Linked DNA regions of Homo sapiens: region 2 is linked to region 1. Evidence: promoter capture Hi-C in human tissues and cell types (Jung and others, 2019). All regions are on one chromosome and are shown on one strand. The core of a region is centred on a gene start or on the middle of the fragment in contact, and the rest is flanking DNA. Distances in the headings are between cores, read along the strand shown. Region 1 has its middle 40 kb from the start of ZFHX2. Region 2 holds the start of IL25 (interleukin 25).

What was found. Contacts are between HindIII fragments. The study calls those that stand out against the background at their distance.
Region 2: a contact is called between the fragment with the promoter of IL25 here and a fragment that was not itself captured in region 1, in 1 of the 25 tissues and cell types used here (hippocampus).

Annotation. Positions count from the first base shown.
Region 1 is chr14:23,509,121-23,515,326 of GRCh38, forward strand. It overlaps a transcript of THTPA not described here. Among named protein-coding and RNA genes, the nearest start is that of ZFHX2, 40 kb to the right of the region's middle. The HindIII fragment of the contact is 5,147 bases long and covers 1-5,071 here.
Region 2 is chr14:23,368,695-23,374,070 of GRCh38, forward strand. IL25 (interleukin 25) reads left to right here and starts at 4,115. Exons shown (of 3, transcript NM_172314.2): 1 at 4,115-4,281; 2 at 4,482-4,702. The coding sequence starts at 4,273. The HindIII fragment of the contact is 4,168 bases long and covers 3,363-5,376 here.

The DNA of each region.
Region 1 (6,206 bases), core at 1,248-3,747:
ATCCCCCAAGGGCCACCACTAAGTAGTCTCTCCTGCTTCTTTGCTGCTAATGGTGGGAGGCTTGGAGAGTGGCTGTCAGGCCGAATGATGGTTCCAGAAGACAATATACAGTTTATCAATACTGAATCTTGTAGCTCACCTCTACCATCACTGTTATAGGGAGCCAGCCAGGCTTGGCAATGTTATTTGATAATATAATAATCATCATTTATATTGCAGCTCTGGAGTGCCTCTGCTACTGACAACTGCTCAGTATCTGAGTGTTGGAGAGATAAAACAGGCTCTAGAAGAGAAAGTGAACCAGGATGGAATCTACAACCCTGGCAAACTGAGTATTGGCTTCTCTCACTGACCACTGAGGGGATAATTTATCAAAGATGTCACCCAATGATAAAAGCAGCCCTAAAATGCTTTCTTTAAAAAATGTGTCCTCTGAGAACATTTAGGTTTTGCCTCTAGACTCTGGTTAGGTGAGTGACTTCACTTTGTGCCCCTTTATCCTATGGTTCCTCAGCTAGAGGAGTAGTCAGCAGGTGGGACAGTGAGTCACACTCTGAAATGGCTCTGTCATTCCTGTGCCATAGGCTGTCAGGAGTCTGGGACTTCTACAGGAGGCTTTAGAGAGGGAGGGAGGAGATGGGGTCAGCTGGGACATTGATAGGCTTTCAGAGTTTGGAGGGACCTTATCACCTGGAAATATGGCAAATCAAATTTGTATTTTAAAGCTATTCTGTCTTTGAAATGGTATGGTGAGTTTTCTTGTGAAGAGTCATCACTCTTGTTAAGTTGTTGGGGGGGGTTGTACACTGGGAGCATGGGTATGACGTAGGATGGGACCAACAATAGGACCCAGAAAGTGAAAAAAAATTGGTAATATTCTTATTAAAATGAGCTGGTCTCCACCTATTACCATTGTTCTTCAGCTCCACAAAGGGCCATGCAAGGAAAGGTGGGCTCATTATGGCAGGGGGAGGCCAGTCATCATGAGGGTAGATGTTCTGAAGCTCAAGGAGCTAAAGAACCACTCCTGGTCACTTGACAAGCTTTCCTCAAAGTGGAACCTGCTTCTGTGGGAATAAAATTTAAAATTAAGGTGAGTCATATGTCCCTGCAGGTTTCAGACAGCCTATCCTCTTGAGGACTCTGATAGAGAGGTTAAGTGACCTCAGGGACTCCAGATGCCTAAGTGAGGACAGGAAAAGGGAAGGTTGCTAGGGATGCAGCAGGAGATGTCCCAGGAGACATTTGTAGTTTCTGGACCAGAATGGGATTGAGGAGGTAATAGGAATAGAAGCTTTGTGTTGATGCCAATGGTCTATAGTGAAGGATGTTTTAGAAGAGAGAGCAGAGATGGCTTAGAACTGAAGTTCTGAATCCAAGATATCAGGAACACTGAGGGGAGATTTTGAAAAACACAAACTCCTTCTCCCATCCCCTACCCCTACAGGGATACAGAATAGACTTTCCAGGGGAAGATAGATGCTGCAGGGTTCCAAAGATGGGGTGAAGGCAAAGGGTATAGGTCTGTGATATGATTTCCGCACCCCATGAGCTGGTTTGGTACTTTCCTGTATTACTCCTACATTAGAAAGACAGCCTCACTGCTGTCCCTTTGTTCATGGACTGTTAGGATGCTGCTGACCTGGGTGGGGACGGCTTATCCATCTGCCAGCTTCCAGGTCAGAACCAGCCCTAGTTACTTGATAGGGCTTTCCACAAAGCAGAATACTGCTTCTGTGGGAATAAAATTTAAAATTTAAAATTGAAAATTGAAAGTTAGCTGGGCCTGGTGGTACATAACTGTAGTCTCAGCTACTTGGAGGGCTGAGGTGGGCAGATTGCTTGAGCCCAAGAGTTGGAGGCTGCAGTGAGCTGTGATCATGCCACTGCACTCCAGCCTGAGTGACAGAGCAAGAGCCTACCTCAAAATAAATAAATAAATAAATAAATAAATAAAAATAAAACTTAAAAAGTAAGGCCTCTATGGCCAAATAAGTTTGAGAATTAGTGGGTTAAACATGATCAACCATTTGGGTTTTTTAACCAGCTCCTCAGAGCCTTTAACATACCAGCATACATTGTGAATCTCTTAAAAGAGGGAATATGCAGTATTTCTCAAACTAATTTGATTGGGGGGTCCTTTTTTTCTTGAGGAGCATTTCATCAGATTAATGTTTCACAGAGCACACCCAGGAAGAAGTTTCACTATACTGGCATCTCTCTCCTTTTTAAAAAAATAACAACTCAAAGTTAGATAGCCCTTACTGACTTATTCCTAAATTCCTGACTTTTGAGGTAGGTAAGAGTACACACTTTTCCTACTCTGGAACTGCAAAGGCAGGCAGTGTTATGTTGTGGTCTTCCTAAGGCAGTCTTACAGGCACTGTCAGCGATTCTCTGCTATTAATAATTCCCATTGATTTGATACCCTCACATTTCCCTATATTGATCTCCCATGTCTCCCTGCAGCAGATGTTCCTAGAATGCTCCTTCCCCTTGACAGAGAGGTAGACAAGGGCAAGTCAACAGGGACCCCTCTGAGCCCAGAGTGTTCTCTTGGTGACCTGGTCTGAGGGTCAGTGTGGCTGAATTGACAAATAGTAGCTGTTGACTCCCTGGTTTGGGGTTGGTTTTCTATAGGAGAAGCAACTGTTGGAGTCAGCTGCCTGAGGAATATACTTCTCTAGGCTGGGGTGGGGAAATGAGCTTGAAGACAAGGAACTGGCTGAGTCTTAATTTGGGTAAGAAGGCTCGGTGGCGCTCACTTGGACTGCAGTTTTATACCCCATTTTCCATGTCTATTCTCCTCCTTCCCCCGCCCCAACCTGTCCATCACCACTCAGCTCTCTTCCTCCTTCATCCTTCTTTTGGGTTCTCTTTCCCTCCCCGCTGTTCTTCTAAGAAGACTGGCTCTCCTTCCTCCTCCCCCATCCCAATCTCTACTTCTCTTCACATCCCCTCTGCACCCCCAGCCTGGCAGCCTGCCCTGTAGGAATGTTAATTAGCATCCACGATTTAATTAATTCAGTAGCTAATTAATGATTGGGGACTGGGGGCTGGGGAGCTGGGGTGCAGGGGGTTGGGGGCTGGAGGTGACAGGGAGAAATAGCAGAGGTTGCAGAAGGCATCGCAGATGGCTGTGCGGTGGCTGGCACAGTGCCCACCGCCATGGATGCAAACACACTTGCGCGCACGCACACGTATACACACACACACAAAAAGGAAAGGGTGATCGAGGAATCAAAAGCAGGCAGGGAAGGGCACAGGGGCCCTGGGAACTGGGGCTGTGCGGCTGGGGGTGGGGAAGGCTCTAGATCTATTTGAATCTGCTCCGGAAGTAGAAGAGGAGAAAAAAAAGAAACAACCACAGGCGCAGAGAGAAGCGAGCTCTCCCGATACCCCACCTCACCCCACCCCCACCCCACCCCAGCCACCCCTCCTCCCTGGCATGGGATTCATGGGCACCAGCTGAGAACGGGGTCCCCTCCCTCTGCCTGCCATAAATATTGGTACTGAGGACCCAGACTCAGAAGGATAGGATATTCCCAAAGAAAAGAGTTTTTCTTTTAAGTTGCTTTAAAAAATATATATGTGTGTGTGTGTGTGTGTATATATATATGCATATATATGTATATATGCATATATATATATATATTTTAAATTGCACCCGTTCTGGTGTGAGGGCGAAGGCGAGTGAAAGAAGGTGACTGAGCCAGGAGGAGAGCACAGATGGCTTGGTGGTGGTATGGTGTGGTGAGTTGTGGGGAGGAAAAGAGGGGGGTCTGGCAGAGGTTGGGGGTGGGTGGAATGAGGACCCTGTTTTCCTCTTTTCGTATTGCTGTGGATGAAGGAGAGAGAGAGAAAAAGAGAGAAAGTGGGTGGGGAGAGAAGCGAGACAGATGGCAGAGTGGAGAGGCAGCAGCCAGTGCCGGCACTGCCCAGCCTGGGCGGACCCAGCTCCCTCCGCCTGCCAGCTCTCCAAATGCCACCCTTCCCCCATCCTCCCCTCTCCCCATCCCCCCAGCTTGGCACTGATCTCGGGGAGAGAGAGGGAGGGAGGCTGGGCAAAGAGCATCTGTTCCCTCCATTCTCCCAGCTCCATCGGCTGCCAACCTAGGGCCATCGTCTGCCTCCATCACCCCTCCGCCCGCCCGCCTACCCACCCAATCCCAAACGGGTGCTGGATCAGGTGCTGAATCCGGCTGCCTCCTCGGGTACCAGTCACTGTGCATTGCTGTGTGTCTGCCACCGCTGCCTGGCACTCATGGGGCCGTGTGTGTGTGTATGTGTGTGTGCGCGCATGTACATGTACGCATAAGCGTGTGCTGTATGTGAGCCTCCTGGGCATGGGTGGGGGTTGGCATTGCGGTTGCCAATCTAGTGTACAACCAGAAGGACAGAGGGATGGAGTGGAAGAAGGAGGGGAGAGGCTTGGGGTCTGGGAGGGGAGAAGAGGGTGCATGAGTTGCTTCATGCTGCCTGCTTACAGGCATTGGCATTGTAGCTGCCACCCTTGTGCCCACGGAGATGGGAGGAGGCGAGTGGAGGGCGCAGCGGCAGGAGTCCTGTGCTCTGGGAGGAAGGCTTTGTACATGGGAGCTGTTGGCATCACATCTGTCAGGCCGGTGCCCAGAACTGGGGCAATGGAGACTGGGGGATCCAGGAAGCAGGGAGGAGGGGCAGAATGTGTTTCTGATGTTGCTGTCCCTCTAGAAGCTCAGCTCTGAAAAATGGTTGGAGTATGAGGTGATTAGTGCTCTTCCAGCTTGAGGAAGTAAAGTGGTGGAGAGAGTAGCCAGGGAAGTGCCAAGAAACAGTCTACGAGCCAGGGAGGAGGGAGTGTGCCACCGTACCCAGGGAGAACTTGTTGGGGCTGGCAATCTGGCCCTTTGTCAGAGTATTGAAGGAGACAGCAAGAGGACCAGATGTGAGGTGGGTGGGTGCTGGCACTGCCCATGGCACCTGGCACAGGCTCTGGCATTGTGTGGAACAGGGGAGGTTGACAGTGCCTCTTGCCAATCTGGTTGAGAGGGCTATTGTGCCAGGAGTGAGAAGGAAGGAGGTGAAACATTTCGGGAGGTGGGGTGTTTGGGAGACCAGATTTTTTTCTGCCAGGTCCTCCTTCCCCTTCCCTCTTAGGCATGGGGAGTGGAGCAACAGACGGAGAGTGGCATGAAGACACAAAGGAGGAAGCACACCATTGCCAAGACCCCAAGGAAGAAGGATGGAAAGCGCTGGCAGTCCTGCCTGGCCCCCAGCCAGTTCCCTGCTGAAGATGGCCAGATCCCCTTGTCTGGTCTGTATATGCCACTTTTGCTGGGGTGGAAGGAGGGAAGGGCTGGCTTGCTGAGCTGGGCTCTAGAATGGGAAGGGTACCTTTCTGCAGATCCCATTTGGACTCTCCACTTGAACAAGTGAGGTGTCTGATTTTCTTCTTCGGTACCTTCCTCTCCTCCCCCTCCCTTCGCCTCACCCCGCTTTCATCTCTCATCACCACCTGGGTCCTACTGCTTGGCACCCAACCAACTGGATGCTGCCACGTTTGGCAGTGCTGCACTGGCACGTGAACAGTGTCTCAGATCCTGGCACTGCAGCAAACCCAAAGCCACCAAACATGCTCATGATGCCACTTGGCAGCAGTCAGAGAGAGGGGGCTGTGCACATAGTGGTGGCCAGGCATTGGGTGGAGCTCTGTGCAGGGAACTGGCATGAGAGGATGCCCTTAACAACTGGGCTGAGTCAGCACTCCCTGGTCAATCTCAGCTCTGCCTTCCTCCCAACTAGATATCCACCTCCTTCCTACCCTTATTGCCCCCACGAAAGGGATTTAGATGGTACCATATTGAGTGTTTGAGCACCATGCGAAAGGAAACAAGCACAGAGGGACAGGCTAGAGCACAGGCTGTAGACACACCCAAGGCTCCAGGCTAGTGGACCATACATATCCTTGGACAACAAGAACAACAACAACAACAACAAAACCCTAGGAGAGCAAAAGGAGGTGGAGAGAGGGACACCAGCTGTGTTGTTACCAGGATGGCACAAGAAGAGATTGGAAGGGAAGTAGGAAGGAGTGACCCTCAGACCTTGCTCTTGGGTGATGGGGTGGTTTGTACTTATGCATATTTCATTCTGCCTTGTGCCTTGTGATTTGCTGAGCTGTGGTTGAGATGAACTGGTTCTTTCTCCCTTGTTAAAAGGTCCAT
Region 2 (5,376 bases), core at 2,865-5,364, 140 kb before region 1:
TTATGAGGATTAAGGGAATCCCAAGAACAGTATCAGGCCCATGAGGTGTAAATTTTGGACAAAGGCAACTACTATTATTGTTATTTGGTGATGGCCTTGTGGTGGCACTAGAATGTCAAGGACATGGTGCCTGCCCTCAAGAAACATATCATGTAGCTCATGCTTGAATCCAGTCAATATCTTCCGGCTGACTCTGGAATAAAATCCAAATGCTCCATGGTAGCCTGGAGGACCCTATGTGATCTCCTCCCTGCCCACCTCTTTCACCTCATCTTGTCTCCCTCTCCTCCTTATCTCTTGTTCAACATCTACACTGTCCTTTCTGTTTCTCAAATATGCCATGCTCTTTTCCACCTCTAGGACTCTGCATGTCCTGCCCCCTCTGCCTAAACTACTTCCCCCAGACCCTTTCTGTCATCAGGTGAAATCCTGCATCCTCAGAAAGGCCTTTCCTGGCTTTCCAACTTAAAGTTGCCCTGCCTTCCTCTCCCCCACCCCCAGTAACTCCCTATCTCATAATGCTGTTTCATTTTCTTCATAGCACTTATTATTATCAGAAATTATCTTGTTTCCTTGTTTATAATCTGTCTCCCCCTAAAACGTAAGCTTCATGAGGCAGGGACCTTGTCTGGCTTGTCCTCCCCTGCATTTCTAGCTGTTAGAATAGTGCTTGGAACACAGTAGGTGCACAGTAAATATTTGGTGAGTGGATAAGTGAACGAAGGCAGCCATGACTATAGGACAAAGCCGAGTAAGCTGAGGGGCCTCCTGGGGAAGGCTACAGCCCTGGACTAAAGACATGGGTTTGTTGGGTTCTTGGTTCTGCTAACTCTGATTCTCCATGTGTCTCCCAGGGTCTAGACTGGGTTCTCCTTGAAGGCTGCTCCTGAGCCTAGGCGTTTTTGTAGCTAAACCATTATCATCTACCAATCAGAAAGTGGTAGCACTGTTCTGGGGGCCTCCATCTGTGCCAGGTGTTCAACCTTTAGTTGCTGGATCATAGGGAAGTATGGTAAGGTGGTGTCCCAAGGCTGAAGGAAGCATCTACTTACCAGCAGGAGCAGAAGTATTTCAACATTTTGATGTTCGGTGCCTTAGCTTCATGTACAGTGAGTGCCGATGAGCTTCAGTAGACCCTGCTGAGTCCTGTGGATTCAGCACTATTTCAGGAGCTGAGGTCTGGAGCAGCTAAGCTGGTTGGCACCTTTGTGACCATCCAGGTCAATGTTCCCCCCAATCCCCGCCCACCCAAACCCACCCACTTCTACAATTGAAGAGGGAGGAGCAGAGAGAGGGCTCAAGATCCAGAGCTGGTCATTGGCAGGGCCAAGACTTCAAGGCAGCAGGTGGAGACTTGCATATCTTCCTGAGAAGGGGCGGGGAAGACATATTCTCACTTTCTGTAAGCCCCAAGAGCCTTTCCAAGCCAAGATTGGGAAGTGTATTCCACCACATCTTCCCTGCCCTTTCCTAGCAGGTGCTTCTCTCTTTCCTCAGGGCCACAGGGACAGGAATCCCAGGAAGCTCTCTTCAACTGCCAGGTCAGGCCTAGGCAGGTGAAGACGTGCTGGGAGGGGACCTTGATGTCATGTGCCATGCAGACTTTCCTTTGTTCCTGCCTCCAGCCTTCTCCCCATTGCCACCCCCCTATCCTCACACCCCCAAGGGTTCCCTGGAAGCTGAAGTGACTCAGGGATTCCAAAACTAGTCACCTCAGGAGGAAACCCCACTGGAAAATGTTTCTCATGACAGGGAGTCACCCTAAGGAGTCCCACAAAGCTGCTACTGAGATAAGGACAGAGGGTGAGCAAGTGGGGTGGGGTGGGGGCATGTGGCTCAGAGCACAGGTTCTCAGGTCAGTCCTGGTCATCATGGGGGTGGGAAAAGCCAACCCTTCCTGGAGGGTTTCTCCCTCTGTCCTAGAGGGACACCCCAAAGGACTCTTCTGAAGGGCAACGTTCCTGGTGACCTAGGCTGGGTCCTCCCTGCAGCGTCAGCAAGTGAAACAGGTAGTTGGGATCACTTCTGGCTCCTTTGAACACCCCCTCCTGGGCAAGGGTCAAGATAGGAGATCTGAGCCAACTCCATTTCTACTACCTTCTTAGCCCTGAGGTTCTGATTGGTGAGAGCGAGACCCATAGGTATCCAGCTCTTCTGAAACGGCACTGCCTCCTAAGATCCTGTTCTGGGATTGAGGTTTTCCCAGGAGCACGGGAAGCCACCTTGAGGCCATGTCTGCCAGACAAAAGGCTAGGAAAGGGAGCTAGTGCAGTGAATCCGAACAGCAGGGCTGGATACCTAAGTGGGCAGACACACCCTGTGGCCCTCAGCAGGTGCAGTTGAAACTTGTCCCAACCCAAGCCCAGGTGAGCAGGAAAGCATTCACTGTGGGGCTCCCCTTCCATTCACAGCCAACTAGGGGTAGGCACGGTGTGGCACTTCCATGCCAGGAGGTTACATGTGGAATTGGTCAGAGCTGGAATGGGAAACCAGCTCAGCCTCTTTCTTTGTGATCTTGGGTAAGTTACTAAATTTCCTTGGGCCTCAGTTTCCTCATCTGTAACATGGGGATAATAGTTTCCATGTCATGGTTTCATTGTCGGGATAAAATGAGATGATGCATGCCCAGGGCTTAGCACCATGCCTGGCACATGTAAGTGCACAGGAGCTGAGGCCAGCAGGATATGGAAGGGAGAGGACGTCTGCGAGTACTGGGGGCAGAGGGTGAGGCAGTGAGAGTGGGGCCATGATACTGGCCTCATCACTGTTCCTGAGTGCCCCTGCTTTCCCAGCCACCACCTGCTTCTTCTAAGTGCCCTCCATCCCACAGTTCCAGGTGCCCCAAGACTCATCAGAGCAGAGCAGTTTCTCCCAATTTTCCAGATTGCCCTTTGACTTCATCACTTCTCTCTTTTGGGGCTGCTTTGCCCTAACGCATTGGAAAGATTCCTCTCACTGCAGTTTAAGTTATTCCTGGTTCCCTTTGTTGATTTCCTAGTCCTTGGTTACTAGAGGAGTATTTTCTAAGGGAAAGCACATGCAAATCAAGCCACATCATTCTAGGGGCAATGTCTGTGTATGGGTATGTTGGGTGCGTATGGGGGATGAGGCAGGCCAATAGGCAAGCATGAAGAGAAGGACCTGGGGGGAAGGACACACTGGCCCACTCTCAGCACAGTGTCTCCCAAGCAGGCTGGACCCGGCTGACCTGTGTCTTTGGGGTCAAGCCCAACTGTAAGCCTTTCTGGGGCACACATACACCCTCCTGGCTAACAGTGGCCCATGTTTCTGGACCTGCTGAGGCTGAGTGGGCTCACTTCATGGCCTGAAAGCAGTAGCTGACCCTGTCATGGGCTTGGTCCCCAAGGCTCTGTGAATGAGAGCAGGTTGGTTCCTGGAACTGAGACCTCCTTCCTGTTGGGTCTTAGGTGAGGCTGTTTCAGTTTCCCTCCTCTTCCTTGCTTCACCTTCTCATTTGTGCAATGGGGACACTCACCCACAGCTTCTTCCATCAGACCTTGCCCATCCAGCCAACAAACTTAGGAAGTCAGGGTCTTCCAGCAGCCCTGTGAGGGTAGGCTTGTATCCCCGGTGGGGGGCAGTGACTGGCGAGGGCAAGGGGGAGTTAGGGAGTGGGTCATGGACAATGGGGGAGAAGTCATAGCTGATGGGGGTCATAGAATTTTGGGGTCATTGAAAATGTGGAAGAGGTCAGAGAACAAAGGGGATGGGAGTCAAAGGATGTCTAAGGGAAAGGAAATAATCACGAAGGTGGATGATCAGAGGGACACCTGGGAAGAGGGGAATGGTGAAACCAGACCCTGGATGGGGGGAGCAGGGATCATGGAAACGAGGCCTCTTGAAGGGAGGCCACAAGACATTTCCTAATTTTGGCTACCAAACCAACCAGGGAAATCCCGCTAATGCCAGTTCACAAGAATGCAGAACAGCAGACTGTTATTGCTTTGACCCCATGGCCAGAAAAATTCAAAGAGCAAAGTTTACCCAATCAGCTACCAGGCATATAATGATGGTCATCACAACTTCCATGAGTATTGCATTTTAAGCAGCCTTTGGAAATACTTTCAGAGTTTTTTTGGTTTTGTTTTTTAACCTCAAGTCACTCCCTAAAAAGACAGTGGAAATAAATTTGAATAAACAAAACAGGCTTGCTGAAAATAAAATCAGGACTCCTAACCTGCTCCAGTCAGCCTGCTTCCACGAGGCCTGTCAGTCAGTGCCCCACTTGTGACTGAGTGTGCAGTGCCCAGCATGTACCAGGTCAGTGCAGAGGGCTGCCTGAGGGCTGTGCTGAGAGGGAGAGGAGCAGAGATGCTGCTGAGGGTGGAGGGAGGCCAAGCTGCCAGGTTTGGGGCTGGGGGCCAAGTGGAGTGAGAAACTGGGATCCCAGGGGGAGGGTGCAGATGAGGGAGCGACCCAGATTAGGTGAGGACAGTTCTCTCATTAGCCTTTTCCTACAGGTGGTTGCATTCTTGGCAATGGTCATGGGAACCCACACCTACAGCCACTGGCCCAGCTGCTGCCCCAGCAAAGGGCAGGACACCTCTGAGGAGCTGCTGAGGTGGAGCACTGTGCCTGTGCCTCCCCTAGAGCCTGCTAGGCCCAACCGCCACCCAGAGTCCTGTAGGGCCAGTGAAGATGGACCCCTCAACAGCAGGGCCATCTCCCCCTGGAGATATGAGTGAGTCTGCTGCCCCTCCCGAATGCCTGCCCTGTGTGTGCTGGCCAGGGTATGCGTGAGGGACCAGGGCAATTCCAGCTTACTTTCCCATTTTGATCTCAGAGGGGCTGTAAAGGTTTGGGAGTTAGACAAGGTCTGTATTTGAGTCCTAGCTCTGACTCTCATTGGATGATCTTGAGTCAATTCAAGTTTTCAAAACTCAGGGTTTTTTTTTTTTTCACCTGCAAAATGATATAATGCCCCATAGGCTAATGTGCAGATCAAATGAAATATAATGTATGTAAAAGTCTGTATTTATGTTGGTTCTCTCCTTTTCTTTTAAAACATCCCTATAATGGCCCATGTTTTTTCTGGGTAAAATATTAGGGAATAATGGCATGATACAGGCATGAAGCATCCCAATACCAATTGATACTGCCCTGGCCATGAATGGGTTAGTTATAAGCATACTAAAGGAGTGAAACCCTTAACTTTTGGGGGCAGCTGGCTGGCTGGAGCTGTGGACTGGATATCTTTGATCATGATCATGGGTACTGTATTCTTTCACTCAGTGTGCCACATAAATATTATAGTTCTCTATTTGTGCCATGATATGAAAAATATTAGGAAGTGCTGAAATATGAATGATGAAGCAAAATATTAAAAACTAGGGTCTTAGGGATTCCAGACATGTG